2 separate regions of the Homo sapiens genome follow, and region 1 is linked to region 2. The links are contacts of gene promoters, found by promoter capture Hi-C in human tissues and cell types (Jung and others, 2019). All regions are on one chromosome and are shown on one strand. Each heading gives the region's core, a stretch centred on a gene start or on the middle of the fragment in contact. The rest is flanking DNA. Distances are from core to core; before and after follow the strand shown.

What was found. The method cuts DNA at HindIII sites, captures the fragments that hold promoters and counts their contacts. A contact is called where the count stands out against the background at its distance.
Region 1: the fragment with the promoter of ZFP62 here is called in contact with the fragment with the promoter of OR2V1 in region 2 in 1 of the 25 tissues and cell types used here (heart left ventricle).

What each region holds. Positions count from the first base shown.
Region 1 is chr5:180,855,670-180,862,798 of GRCh38, forward strand. It overlaps ZFP62 (ZFP62 zinc finger protein), which reads right to left and starts at 5,607. Exons shown (of 2, transcript NM_001172638.2): 1 at 5,550-5,607. The coding sequence starts at 5,550. RefSeq lists enhancers at 5,187-5,266, 5,744-6,650 and a silencer at 5,367-5,816. The HindIII fragment of the contact is 15,115 bases long and covers 1-7,129 here.
Region 2 is chr5:181,127,390-181,133,867 of GRCh38, forward strand. OR2V1 (olfactory receptor family 2 subfamily V member 1) reads right to left here and starts at 3,780. Exons shown (of 4, transcript NM_001258283.2): 1 at 3,661-3,780; 2 at 2,784-2,826; 3 at 2,131-2,186. RefSeq lists an enhancer at 2,566-3,067. The HindIII fragment of the contact is 10,189 bases long and covers 1-5,335 here.

The sequences.
Region 1 (7,129 bases), core at 4,357-6,856, 270 kb before region 2:
TCCCTTGGCCACATCCAAAACAGCCCCTAGGACCGCTGATTCTATTGCCTAAGTAGTTCTGAAGCTCCCACCCCATCCCCCACCTCCTTCTTACTGCTAAGGCCTTAGTTTGAGCCTTCTAAATTCTCTTCTGCATGACTGCCATCGTTTCTAGACCTTCACTCTTATCCCTGCCCAATTCTTTCTCCAACCACTGTGAAGAATTTTTGTAAAATGCACACCTAGTCACTGGGCAGTGCCAAGTTCTCCCAGGCTACTTACTGTGGCACCTAAAGCCTTCTGCACCAGCCGCCTGTGCAACTGTCAACCCTCACTGCCACTCCACTCACTGATTCTCAGCCTGATCTGTCCTCCTTTGTTTCTTTGACAAGTGGATTATTCGTTTTCTTCCTGTCCTCTGGGATTCCATGTTAGACTGGCTGCTGACTGGCCTGGTCTGCCTAAAATCACAGACACTTTGCCACTTACCTCTCTAACCTAGGTGAAGGCCAGGGGCCTCCCTGTTCTGGCTCTGCTTAAACCCCTCTGTTTGGGTTGGGGCGCATGATGTCCCGTCACCTGATGTAGTTCATCCAATCCTCTTCTTGAGTGAAATCAAAATGGATTAACATAAACATGCATCTTCAATGAAAATAGATGGCTTGAAATGAAATCTATGTTAATCAATACTAAGATCCATCAAAAACACAGGCAGAAAAGCACCAAGACAGCACTAGAGTAAATGCTGCTAAAACATAAAGACAATACAAAGAATGTAACACATAAGGATAATTAAGTTATCCTTATAAACAATACTGGAGATGCATTCTAGGGTATCAGTTATTTCTGAGGCTAAGTGTTGCCCAAGGAACTTAAGACTATTGTCTGCATCCTGTTTGTTTTCCAGGCCCCGGGCTATTCCTATCCAAAGACATGGATATGACAAGGCCCTGCCATCAAGGTGCCTGCAGACTAGTAGGAGAGTCTGGTAGGAAAATAACCATATGATAAAAATGACAGAGGCGGCCGGGCATGGTGGTTCACGCCTGTAATCCCAGCACTTTGGGAGGCTGAGGCGGGCAGATCATGAGATCAGGAGATCGAGACCATCCTGGCTAACACCGTGAAACCCCATCTCTACTAAAAATACAAAAAAATGGCCGGGCATGGTGGTGGGCGCCTGTAGCTCCAGCTACTAGGGAGGCTGAGGCAGGAGAATGGCATGAACCTGGGAGGCGAGCCTGCAGTGAGCTGAGATCGTGCCACTGCACTCCAGCCTGGGTGACAGAGCAAGACTATGTCTCAAAAAAAAAAAAAAAAAAAAAAAAAAGCAAATACAGGACATGGAGGGTGGGAAAGGGGGGATGGACTACAGGAATAGCTTCAGGAAGAGAAGAGTGCCAAGGGAAGAGCAGGTACAGAGGAACTGGTGTTCACCCCCCGAAGACATCTGGGGCAGGCAAAGGGAAAATCAGACAGGTAGGCAAAGACAAGGGCTGCAACCATAAGGAGTCCAGACTTGATCCTCGGGAGCTTCGGGCAAAGGAGTAGCAAACTTGGATATGCGTTTTGGAAAAATTACTTATTTTATTAAACTGGAGTTGGCAAACATTTTCTGTAAGAACCAGGTAGCATATATTTTAGGCTTTGTGGGCCACACAGAACTGCTGAGTACTATTTTTGTTTAAGCATTCCTTTAAAAGTGTAAAAATCATTCTTAGTTTGTAGGCCATACAAAAACAGTCCACAAGCCCAGCAGTGTGCCCACCTCTGTTAGATAATATCAAGGAATCAGAGCTAATTTAGGCTGGTATAATAACGGCATTGTGGCTATGTTAGAACTTTTGTTTTTTTTTTGTTGTTTTTTTGAGACTGAGTCTTGCTCTGTTGCCCAGGCTGGAGTGCAATGGCACGTCTCAGCACACTGCAGCCTCCACCACCCAGGTTCAAGCGATTCTCCTGCCTCAGCCTCCCGAGTAGCTGGGATTACAGGTATGTGCCACCATGCTCAGCTAATTTTTATATTTTTAGTAGAGATGGGGTTTTGCCATGTTGGCAGGCCTGTCTCCAACGCCTGACCTCAGGGGATCCACCCGTCTCAGCCTCCCAAAGTGCTGGGATTACAGGCGTGAACCACCGCACCCAGACCTTTTTTTTTTTTTTTTAAATTCAGACTGAAGTCTGCAGTGAAATGGCATGGAATCTGGAATTTAAAATATTTCAATCAGGAAAAACTAAAAAGGGAAAAGTTAAACAGCAGAATCCTGATAATTGCTGAATCCAAGTGATGGGTATATGGAAGTTCATAAGAAAAAAACTTTAGGCCGGGTACAGTGGCTCACGCCTATAAGCCCAGCTCTTTCGGAGGCCGAGGCAGGTGGGTCACCTGAGGTCAGGAGTTTGAGACCAGCCTGGCCAACATGGTGAAACCCCATCTCTACTAAAAAAAAAAAAAAAAATTAGCTGGGCATGGTGGTGGGCACCTGTAATCCCAGCTACTTGGGAGGCTGAAGCAGGAGAATTGCCTGAATCCAGAAGGTGGAGGTTGCAGTAAGCTGAGATTGTGCCATTGCACTTCAGCCTGGGCAAGAAGAGTGAAACTCTGTCTCAAAAAAAAAAAAAAAAAAAAAGAAAAAAAGAAAAGAAAAAAAAGAAAAATATTTTAAAAAGATCAGGCAAGGTGCAGTGGTTCATGCCTGTAATCTCAGCACATTGGGAGGCTGAGGCAGACAGATCACTTGAGGCTAGGAGTTCAAAACCAGCCTGGCCAATGAGGTGAATCCATCTCTACTAAAAATACAAAAATTAGCCAGATGTGGTGGTGCACACCTGTAGTTCCAGCTACTCGACTTGGGAGGCTGAGGCACAAGAATCGCTTGAACCTGGGAGGCAGAGGTTGCAGTGAGCCAAGATAGCGCCATTGCACTCCAGCCTCGGTGACAGAGCGAGACTCTGTCTCAAAAAAAAAGAAAGATCACTCACACTAGTTGCAGTGGGAGAATGGATTGAGGCAAGACAGGACTGAGTCCTGGAGTTCCAGGAGTAAGTCACTATAATCCAATCAAGACTGATTTGGTAGCTAAGTCATGTGTCCCTGATGACACAAGTAAGGAATTACCCCCAAAACACAACTCTTCCATATAAAGACCCAGAAACTCCTGAATTTCTTAAAAGTTCTAAAGGCTGAATGGACAAGCCCTTTCTAACCAGTTTTCAACACGCAGCATGAGTCTAATAGCCTGGTTACATCAGCCAAAAGCGTCAGACATAGAACGCCACCCACTCCTTCCAAACTACATACGACCAACAACCTCTGGGCACTCTTCCGAGCTTCTTGTTCATGCTTTATCGCCAAGGCCTAGAAAAGTGAATGCAAACAGTTAAGAACCGGCCCTACATTCTTGCTGTCTCTGCCTCCGAGACTCAGGAGCCACTTTTCAAGAGCCGAGACAACTCGTTAGAGAGGAGCCGTGGCCTGCTCTGGCCGAAAACCCCTTCCTATTAACAGACTGCAACTAGCCCGGAACGACTTTCAATTTGCAGAGTCCAACCATATTCCACAAGACAATCTACCACCTCAAGGTTCACGCGTGGATTCTACACCTTAAATCCTTGGATACTGTCTTTGATTTGGAGATGAGCAAAGAAAGGAAACAAGACAAGAGAAAGTGACAAAATGCTTACCAACCCAGAACAAAGAGTACCTAGGAGGGGCAAAATGTACAAAGGAAAGATGGGACTAAGGAACAGAGAAGTGATATGCAGATGAGAAGAGAATATGGTTTGTGTTCTAGCTACTGTTGCATTTGTCTTATGAATATTAGGAATGTATATGATTAACGTGAGTTGGTTCTATTGCTTAAATATAGAAATAAGAATGAAAGGTGATTTTTCCTTAAAGTAAAAAACTGAAATAGAACATTCTCATGCCAAGTAGTGGAGAAGAGATTTCTAGTTGTCGTAGGGGAGGAGGTGAGCAAAGGCGATACTAAAAGGGAGGCTGATTTTCTGAATCAAACCCGGCAGGGACTGGCTTGGAGTCATTGACACAATTAGTCTATTAGGCTAGTGTAACACTAAATATAGGGACAAGTCTCAGAAGGGAAGAACTACTTACGTCTTATTTGTTCTTTAAACACTCTACATCAGTGATTTTGATAACGACTTGTCATATGTAACAATCTGCCAATAACTGGTTGAGTTAATGTAAAAAAATAATTTTCTAACGGCTGTTTAGTTTCTTCTGTAAAAATCCCTACCCTAATACACTGTATTGAGTATACCATTGTTTGAAGTAACAACAAATTGGAGACAACCCAAATGCCCCCGAATAGATCTAAAAAAGGACAGAACATCGAAAACATCCAAACAATGGCCCATCCAATACTTACCACAGCTCTGTAAAACAAAACGAAACAAAACACAACTTCTGTGTTCTGACATGTAGAGACCAGTAAGATAAAGTGAAAGAATCAAGGAGTTAGAAGGATTTCTATCACCTGTGTGAAAAAAGGGGGAACTAACTAGTTATATTTGCCAGTATTTGCAGAAATTCGGAAAAGATACAAAGGAACAAAAGTGGTTACCTAAGAGGGTAGGGCCTAGGAAGATACCTAAGCGGGATGGGAAGAAATCTTTCACTGGTAACTTTTTATATTTTTAATATCCCAGCCATATGAATATATTACATATTTCATATTATTATTTTTTTTAAGCCTTGAGCTTTCACAAAGAAATGCTCCTGCTGGCCAACTACTTTAAATGTCTTAGAGCAGCACACCCAGCCCTGGCATTCCCCAGTGATCTTTTCCGTCCCACCCCTGGGTTCCCGCAGGCTGTCCCCTGGGTCTAAGAAACTCTTCGACCTTCCTCTCCCTACCTAGTTAACTCCTTTTCTGCTTGCAGGAACACGCGGCAGGTCGCCTCCTCCCCGGTGCACCCGTCTGTATGCAGGTGCGCTTCCCCAGATGAGGGCTAGGACGCACCTCCGGGGTCTCTATTCACACCTGCAGCGGGAGCTTATCATCATCACTCACCGACCAAAAAAAAAAAAGAAAAAAAGGTGGTGGGGTGGAGCGGAGGGGAAGAAGGTCGAATCAGATCACCCCTAGAGGTCTCTCTGCCCTCGCAATCACTCTCAAGTCCTAGAGTACCAAACTTAACTGCAGAGGGAGCACGAAATGGTGGGTATTTTGAAGCGCTAATTTTTAGGGATCCCCTCCCATCCAAAACAGGGATGAATAGTTGAGGAACACCGGAGCGGGGCCCTGGCCCTTCTCGGAACGTTGAGCAGACCTAACATGACGCTGGTCCGTTCAAACGTCGCAGTTGTGGCCCACACAGAGCCCAGTCTGTTCCAGGGGCGCGCCCTGCACCCCTCTGCCTGCCCGAGGTCTTCCCTCCCCTCCGCTCCCCAGAAACGCACCCACTGAGACATGTGCGGGGAGGGGGCACGCTTACTCCCACATCCCGCCCGAGACCCGCGGAGCAGCCAAGACCCGGCCAAAAAGGGGAGGGCGTGGCAGGCAAGGGCCGGGGGCGGGAGCGCGGGCGGCCGCGGACTCACGTACTGGCTGTGGCGGCGCCGCGGGAACCCGGCCGCCAGCGGGACAAAAGCGCGGACCGCACGGCCGGAAGAACCCGCGCCGGCCCTGGGGCACTTCCGCGCCCTCTCTGGGACGCTGGAGGACTGACTCGATGGTCCGGGCCGACGGCGCCGGCGGGAGGGAGGGAGGGGAGCGCCTCCTCGGCTATTTATTGAGGACCAGCTGCAGGGCGCGCGCTCCAGGCGCGGCCAGGAGGCCGTGGGCGGGGCTTTCTGTTTCCGTGCCCATTAGCTTCTGGGGTAGGCTGGGGGAGGGGCACAGGTAATAAAGTAAATACCTGCCTACCTGGTTCCTGAACACGTGATTCATTGCCAGGTGTGGGTGCGGGGACGTTCCCGGAAGTGGGGGCCTGGCGGGAAATGGGGGAATCCGGGAGGGGCGCAGGACAGCGCTGGGCTGGGGACCCATTGCCTTCTCAGCTGGTTGGGGGCTGGCCCGAGAGCACCAGCCCTTCCTGGTCGTCAGCACCAGAAGCGCCCCCGGTTAGGCACTGGGGATGCGGAGTGGGAGCGCGCCCCTGGAGCCGTCCCTGGGACCGGGCCACGCTCCCACCCGGGGCGCCAGCTTGGCAGCGACCTCGCCCCCTGCCCACCCCACCGCCGGTGTCGGCTTCCAAACCCAGGGCCTAAAATGACTTTGAAGACCTTTTTTTTTTTTTTAAATTAATGTTTGTGGGTACATAGTAGGTGTCCCTATTTGTCGAGTACGTGAGATATCTTGATACAGACAGGAATGCAATGCGTAATAATCATATCAGGGTTAATGGCGTGTCCATCACTTCAAGCATTTATCCTTTGTGTTACAAGCAATCAAATTATATTCTTATTTTTAAATATACAACTAAGTTATTGGCTATAGTCAGCCTTTTTTAAAAACAGCAACATCTAAATATTTTTCATATTAAGTTTAAATAATTGCAAAGGGTATATTTTTGGCATGCTGTTAATATTAAGAACAAAATTGCTTTCAAGTGTATCCAATGGAATCTAAATCCCTGAAGATTTGGTATTATCCACTTTTAACAGTCATAAGTTTTACATCTTTTAGGGTTTTTTTCCTTGAACTTTTATGTCCCTCACCGGCTTTTTATTCTACTGTAAAAATATTTTCATTCTATGTGCCTCATTGAATTTTATCCTAGTGTAAAATAGTTCTATGCATTGTTTTATTGTTTATTGTTTATCCTAGCATATATGTCCGTAACGAAAGTAGATTACATTTTTTCTTAGTGTTATTTTCTGGATTATTAGCAAAATTATATAAATATTTCAAAATGTTTACTGTTAATTCTTAGACAAAAAGTGAAGTGCTTTGGAAGCACAACTTGTAATGAGATGGATTTTGTTTTACAGCTCAAATTATTTATATTATTTGAATGAATTTTACATATTGCTGGGGTGAGCCGGTGTTTGGCATCAGCTCGACGCCTATTTTTCATTTTTATACATGTGGGTGCTGAGACACTGTGTTCACTCAAGTAGAGGGAATGGGCGTTTCATTGTAGCAATAAGACCCTTGACGGCATTTGGGCTTCACGCCACAAC
Region 2 (6,478 bases), core at 2,530-5,029:
AAATGGAAGAAACATCTTCAGATGCTTACAAAGACGAGGACCTGCTCCACACATGGGCGGCTGTTTATCTGTAAGGCCTCTGCGTGCAGGTGCATTCACGTCCACCTTACCTCACTGCAGCGTTAAATGAGGCTGCTCCACGGGACACCACGCTCTCTGTGCCAGGACCCCGGGGAATTTCCTAAACTGGGATGGGCCTGCCCAGGCCCAGGACCCTGGAGATGGCTGCTTGATCTGTGGCCCTAGGTCAGGGAGCTTGTCCTGGTTCATGCCCAGGAGGGAGTTCCCGGGGTCCTTGCCACTGATGACCCCTGGAGTGATGTGGAGGGGATTTCTACAGGAGAGATCTATTCCCACAGCGACCAAGCACCATCTCAGCCACACCAGCCGCAGGTTCCACCCAGCAGCGAAACAAACCAGGTTCCCCCAGATCCCCCAGCAGAAGAAGGGATGCCCAGCCCTACCACCGTGTCCAGAGGCACCAGCCACAGGCACCTCCCAGGACATGCACGTCCCACTCCCCCCTCCCCCAGTCTCTTAAACTACAATACTGCATGGTTGACTGATGCCACTTCTCCCTCCATCCTGCATGGTTCCTTTGCACTCAGACTCTTACACCCACTGTGCACTCAACCTCTCCCCTCAGCTGTGTCACGGGCTTGTTCCACCCGAAGTGGCCAAACAGACCACCTGCTCTCCCCTGGAGAAACGCCTGTTCTCCCGCTCTCAGCTCAGTGAGTGGCAGATCTGTCCAGATTGACAGGTCACAACACTCGCATCATCCTGGACTCCTGTCCTCTCCTCACACACACACACACACACACACACACACGCCCCAAACATCAGAAACCCCTGCTGGCTCCCCTTGCAAAACATACCCCCCAGCCAGCACGCATCCCTGCCAGCTCCCACCTGGCCACACCACCTCTAGAGTGTCCCTGGAGGATGGCAACGGCCCCAACTGCATTTGCCTCCCAGTCTACGCTGGCACACCCCAGCCCAACCTGGTCTATTTGTCACGTAGTCCTGGGGTGGACCCATCTCTGCAGGAATAAAGCCAAAGTACTTCCAGAGGAAATGCAAGACTCATCAGCAGCCCTCCACCACCACCCACGCCTTTCCTTCCACTCTCCCGGGATTCCCTCCATGCCGGTCTCCCTGCCTCCTGGAGCTGCTCCCACACGGCAGGACAAGGCCAGCTCCAGGGGGCCTGGACACTTTCTCTCACCTCCGTGCAGAAGGCTCTTCCCAGACTGGCCCTGCCTTGCTCCCTCACCTCCTCCTCGCCTTCTCAGCAAAGCCTTCCCTCAGCACCCATTTAGAGCTGAAATCCTTCTTCTTCTGCCTCCCTTCCCTGCCTTGGTTCCCACAGCAGGCATATATGCAAGGCAGGCCCCAGGCTGCTCATGTGGGTGTCTGTTCTCTGCTTTCCCAACTAGAACCCGTGTTCCCCGGTGCCACGGGTGCTCGTGGTGGGATCCCTGGCTCCCGGAACAGGGTCTGGCACATCTGTTATGAGCTCAGTCAATATTTGTTGAATGCATAAAAATTTTGTTGGCCAAGTACCCTGGCTCACACCTGTAATTCCAAAACTTTGAAAGGCTGAGGCAGAAGGATAGCTCGAGGTAGGAGTTTGAGACCAGCCTGGGCAACATAAACGAGACCTCATCTCTATTCAAAAAACAGAGAAAATTAGCCAGGCTATTGTGGCACACATCTGTAGTCCCAGCTACTCAGGTGGCTGAGGTGGAAGGATCGTTTGAGCCTGAAAGTTCAAGCTGGCAGTGATCTATGTTCACGCCACTGCACTCCAGCCTGGGTGACAGAGCGAGCTTTGTCTCCAAAATAAAAATAAAATAAAACATTACCTGGGCGTGGTGGTGTGCACCTGTAGTTCCAGTTACTTGGAAGACTGAGGCAGATCACTTGAGCCTAGGAATTTGAGGCTGCAGTGAGCTACGATCACACCACTGCACTCCAGCCTGAATGATAGAGCTATGACATTGTGTGATTTGGAGGGGGTTTCTACAGGAGCAAATCTGTTCCCACAGCGACCAAGCACCCTCTCAGCCATATCAACCAGCAAAATACACCAGATGCCCCAGCAGAAGAACGGTCTCCCAGCCTTACCACCATGTTCAGAGGCACCAGCCACTTGTGCCTCTCAGGACACAGACGGCAAGATCCTGTCTCAGAAAAAAAAAATTGTATTATGAAACACAACAGAATTTATTCTTGCCTCTCACTGGCTTATCTTCCTGCTCTCTAATTTCAGACCTTTCCGTTGGGTGTTTAGTTAATGGCTTCACTTTTCTTCCTAGAAACCACAACATAGAAGAAGCCACTGCATCTCTGCAATATTCTCCCCGGCACGGGAGGACCCCGTCCCACATCAGCCCCCTCCTTCCTGCTCCTTCACCTTCGCACTCCCCACACATCTGTCCTTGTCTTCCTGCTGTGGACCATCCTCCACCCCAGGGACCTAGAGCCCAGTCTCCAACCCAGACAGAGGGAGGGGGACGGGAAAAGGGGAGTAGGACACCAAGGAAAGAGAGAGAGGTGGGTCAAAGGAAGAGAACGAGAAGAAAGAGTGAGGAGAAACATCACACCAGAAGACGGATGCCCCTCCAAACACCCACACGAAACAGTTACACCCTGATGGAGGCAGACAGCAGGAGGAAGAGCAAGTGCTGATGAACAAGATAAATGGGGACGTGAACCAGCAATGGGAGCAGGAGCTGCAGGGAAGAGAGAGGGGACGACAGGACAAGACCCTCACTCACCTGTGGGTGGGTCCCTGCAGGGGAACAAACTCAGCAGAGTCACCTGTGGAGGAGTTCCTAGCGTCAGAGCCATGCACTCATCCTCCTGTGTTTGCTCCCACTGGGTCGGGGGACAGGAGGAGCCGCAGCCCCAACCTCCTTCCTCAGCCCGCACCGACTACTCATCGGGTTGTGGAGCCCACGGCACCCTCAGCCTCCAGTGGCCCCTCAGGCTCAGAGAGCAAGGCTCACACAGACCACAGCCTCCTCTCAGAGGGAGAAACAGGCTCAGGGAAGGAGCTGGTGCTGGCAGGAGAGGTGGAGCCAGGAGCAGTGCCCTGAGCCCACCCAGGATTCCCACCTGCCTCCAGGACACCCTGGCTCTGGCCAGGTGGCAGAACCGCCTCCCACTGCCCACACAGGTACTGAACCCAGACACGGGGTGAAGAGGGGAAGCTGACTTCAGACCTCAGCTCCCAGGGGACCCCACAGACTCCAGCCCTGGAAGAGGTGCTCCCAAGATTACAATTAAAAAGACCCACAGAGGGACCTGGGGACAGGAACAGGAGCAGGGCCAGTGGGGACAGCGTGAGGAAACCCAGCTGGGGGAGGAGGAACGCAGGGCAGAGGAATACAGGAATGCGGAGGACATTCTTGGTGCCCTACATTGCCCCCCCACACACACATCAGCACTTCCCAGCGACCTCCAGGGCCCTCATGGGGTCTCCATGTCACAGCTGTCCCTTGGGCCCTCGCTGCACCCCACACCTGTCCTTCACCTGCCCCCATTAAGTCAGCCTACATCACCCGTGACATGCAAAGCACTGGGTGGGGGGCTCTGGACACAGTCCTTGCTCAAGGGGTCTACAGCCTCGTGGGAGGGAAAGAACAGCCCCACCTTCACGAGAGTCGGGTGGAGCCTGGGGGCCTGGTTGGGATCCTCATAAACCTGACAGGCGTTTCTGCAGGGTCAGTGTCTTCGTGGGCTGCTGGGGATGGGGCTGAAGTCCACGGTTCTGATGCTGCCACTGCCTTTTACTCTCAAGAGCATTTCACATCGGAGGATGCATTTTATGGTCACTCTGTGGCTATTTATGTCCCATGGAAGCAGGCCATTTTCTCAGGGGCCAATGTGCTTGAAATCCCCTTGCCACATGGCTCAGACACCAGAGGCGTTTGTTCCTTCTGAATCTCGACTTCCTTGTGTGTCTTTGCTACCACACTTTTGGTGTGTGCCCTCTTCCTGATCCAGCTTCCAGCTATGGCAGGAGTCTGAGGAACATGCAGGCGAGGAGGCCATGAGGGAGACACAGGAAGACCGGGGCAGAGAGAGGTAGACTAGGGAGGAAGGGAATGGCCACCTCGCAGCTGGAGTGGGGCAGGCTGGCTTTTGAGGACTGGACCTGCAGCGTCTCCCACTCCTCTCCCACACCGGCCTTCTCCTCTATCCTCCTATGCACCCAACGCTTTCCACACTCACACTTTTTCTCCAGCCACTTCTCCCCACCGGCACTTCCTCTGTCTTCTTCCTCTGTTACTCTTCAGCCTTATCTAATTCCCCAAGACCGAGCTCAAGCCCACCTCCATTCAGATTCCTCCGGAACTCAATCCACCATGACCTCCGCCGGCCATGGCTTCCTGTCTACACTCTGGCAGCGTATGTCCATGGCCTGCTGACAGCTCTTGTATTGCCTTTTATCGTATTATTCAGGGGGAACTTTTGATCATGTGCAAACAAGGAAACACTTTTATTTTTGTACAGCCACTGCTTTTAAATAAGACATCACAATTCATTCTCCACATCTTCATGACATCTCATGCAGATCAAGAGTTTTCTGGTGACTTTGGGTGGTAAGACGAAGGCTCATTTATATATTCTAAAATCCAGTCCATTGAAAATCAAAATTTGAATCTCACATTCAATTCAGTGTTGGTCCCCTTGACACAGCCTAAATCAAGACTAACTTGGGGCTTGGAGTCCCACAGTAGAGAAGGGAGAAGAGTCTGCTAACAGCAATCATATTATGTGTCCTTTCAGATTTTAAGGGAGGTGGGGATACTCTTTGAAATGTCCGTTTTTCTCAAATAAGTTACTAGGATGTCTGAACTGATTTATTTGGAGAACTGCCCTGCATAAATAGAAGCACTGTCTTTTACATGAGTATCTTAATTTAAAAATGTTTAATCTGGCACGGTGGTGCGTGTCTGTGGTCCCAGCTACTCTGGAGGCTGAGGTGGGAGGATCATTTAAGCCCATGAGGTCAGGGCTGCAGTGAGCTGAGATCACACCCCTGCACTTCAGCCTGGGCAACAGAGCCAGACCCTGTCTCAAAAAAAAAAATTATTGTCTAGGACATTCAAATTTTCAACCTCCCCTAATTTTTGTACTAAAATGAAAGCAGCAGCTGTCACATAAATGTCCAGGAAATGTCATTATTGATGTTTCTCTGTTAAGAATTCTTCTTAAATGCTCATCCTATTATTATGTTTTATTCTTGATATTTTAGAGAAACTTACTGATGTATTTACTGAGGAAACTATGTGATTTCTGAAACTTATTTGTAGATAATCCAGTTGTGAAGGGGAGAGGGAGAGGTGGGTGGGGAGTAGACGGAACGGTGTTGACCCTGAGCTGCCAATTGCCAGCACCGGGTGGTGAGTGCAGAGAAGTTCATTATACGATGCTTCCAGGTTTTAGGTGTGTCTAAAATGCTCTATAACAAGAACCTGGAAGGTCACTCCACACTGGTTGAGTAAACTGTAATGTATCCACATAACAGAGTGCCGTACGACTGTAAAAAGAACATCAAGTGTTTCTTCTTCTACACTGGAGGGATCTTCAGGAGGTAAGGAGGGAAAAAGCATGGTGCAGAACAGAACACAGCCTGCTGCTTCTGCCGTGAGAAAGGAGGAAATCTATGGACAAGGTTGTTTTTTACATTTTCAAAATCAACTATAAAAGGATAATTGCAAACTAATAAATACGGTTCCACATAGCAGGAGGGAAGAAATGTGTGTACGAGACAGAGACAGAAACTAGGTTTTTTTTTTCTTTTAAGAGACAGGGTCTTGCTCTGTGGCCCAGGCTGGAGTGCAGCAGTGCCAACATGGCTCACTGCAGCCTCCAACTCCTGAGGCAAGGGCACTCTCCTGAGCTCCAGAGATCCTCCTGCCTCAGCCCCTGAGCAGCTAGGACCCCAGGAGCATGCCACCACACCCGGGTGATTCTTTAATTTTTTGTAGAGATGAGTCTTGCTATGTTGCCCAGGCTGGTCTCAAACTTCTGGCTTCAAGCAGTCACCCTCCTCAGCCTCCCAAAGTGCTGGGATTACAGGCAAGAGCCGCCACTCCTCGCTAAAACTACACATCTGTAAGTGTGCTTTATTTTATAATTGGACTTCAGTACATGTTTCATACAATTAAAAATCAAAATTATATCAAAAAGTAAAAAAATTTCAGCCACTGTGGACTAGTTTGTATAAGAACAACTTTCATGATAAGAACAATTGGAGAAATTGGATAAAATCTAAAAATGAAATATTTTATAAGTGATTATAAAGATGCGGAAACAGCCACGACTCAAGGGTCTGAGACCCGGGGATGTGTTCTCGGCTGAGCTGGACATTGGGTGGTGCTTTTCCTCTCCAGGCATTTGCTGACTCATCCCTGGCACAGGGCCCAGAGGCTGGGAAGCTGAGCGAAGCCTCTTGTCATCT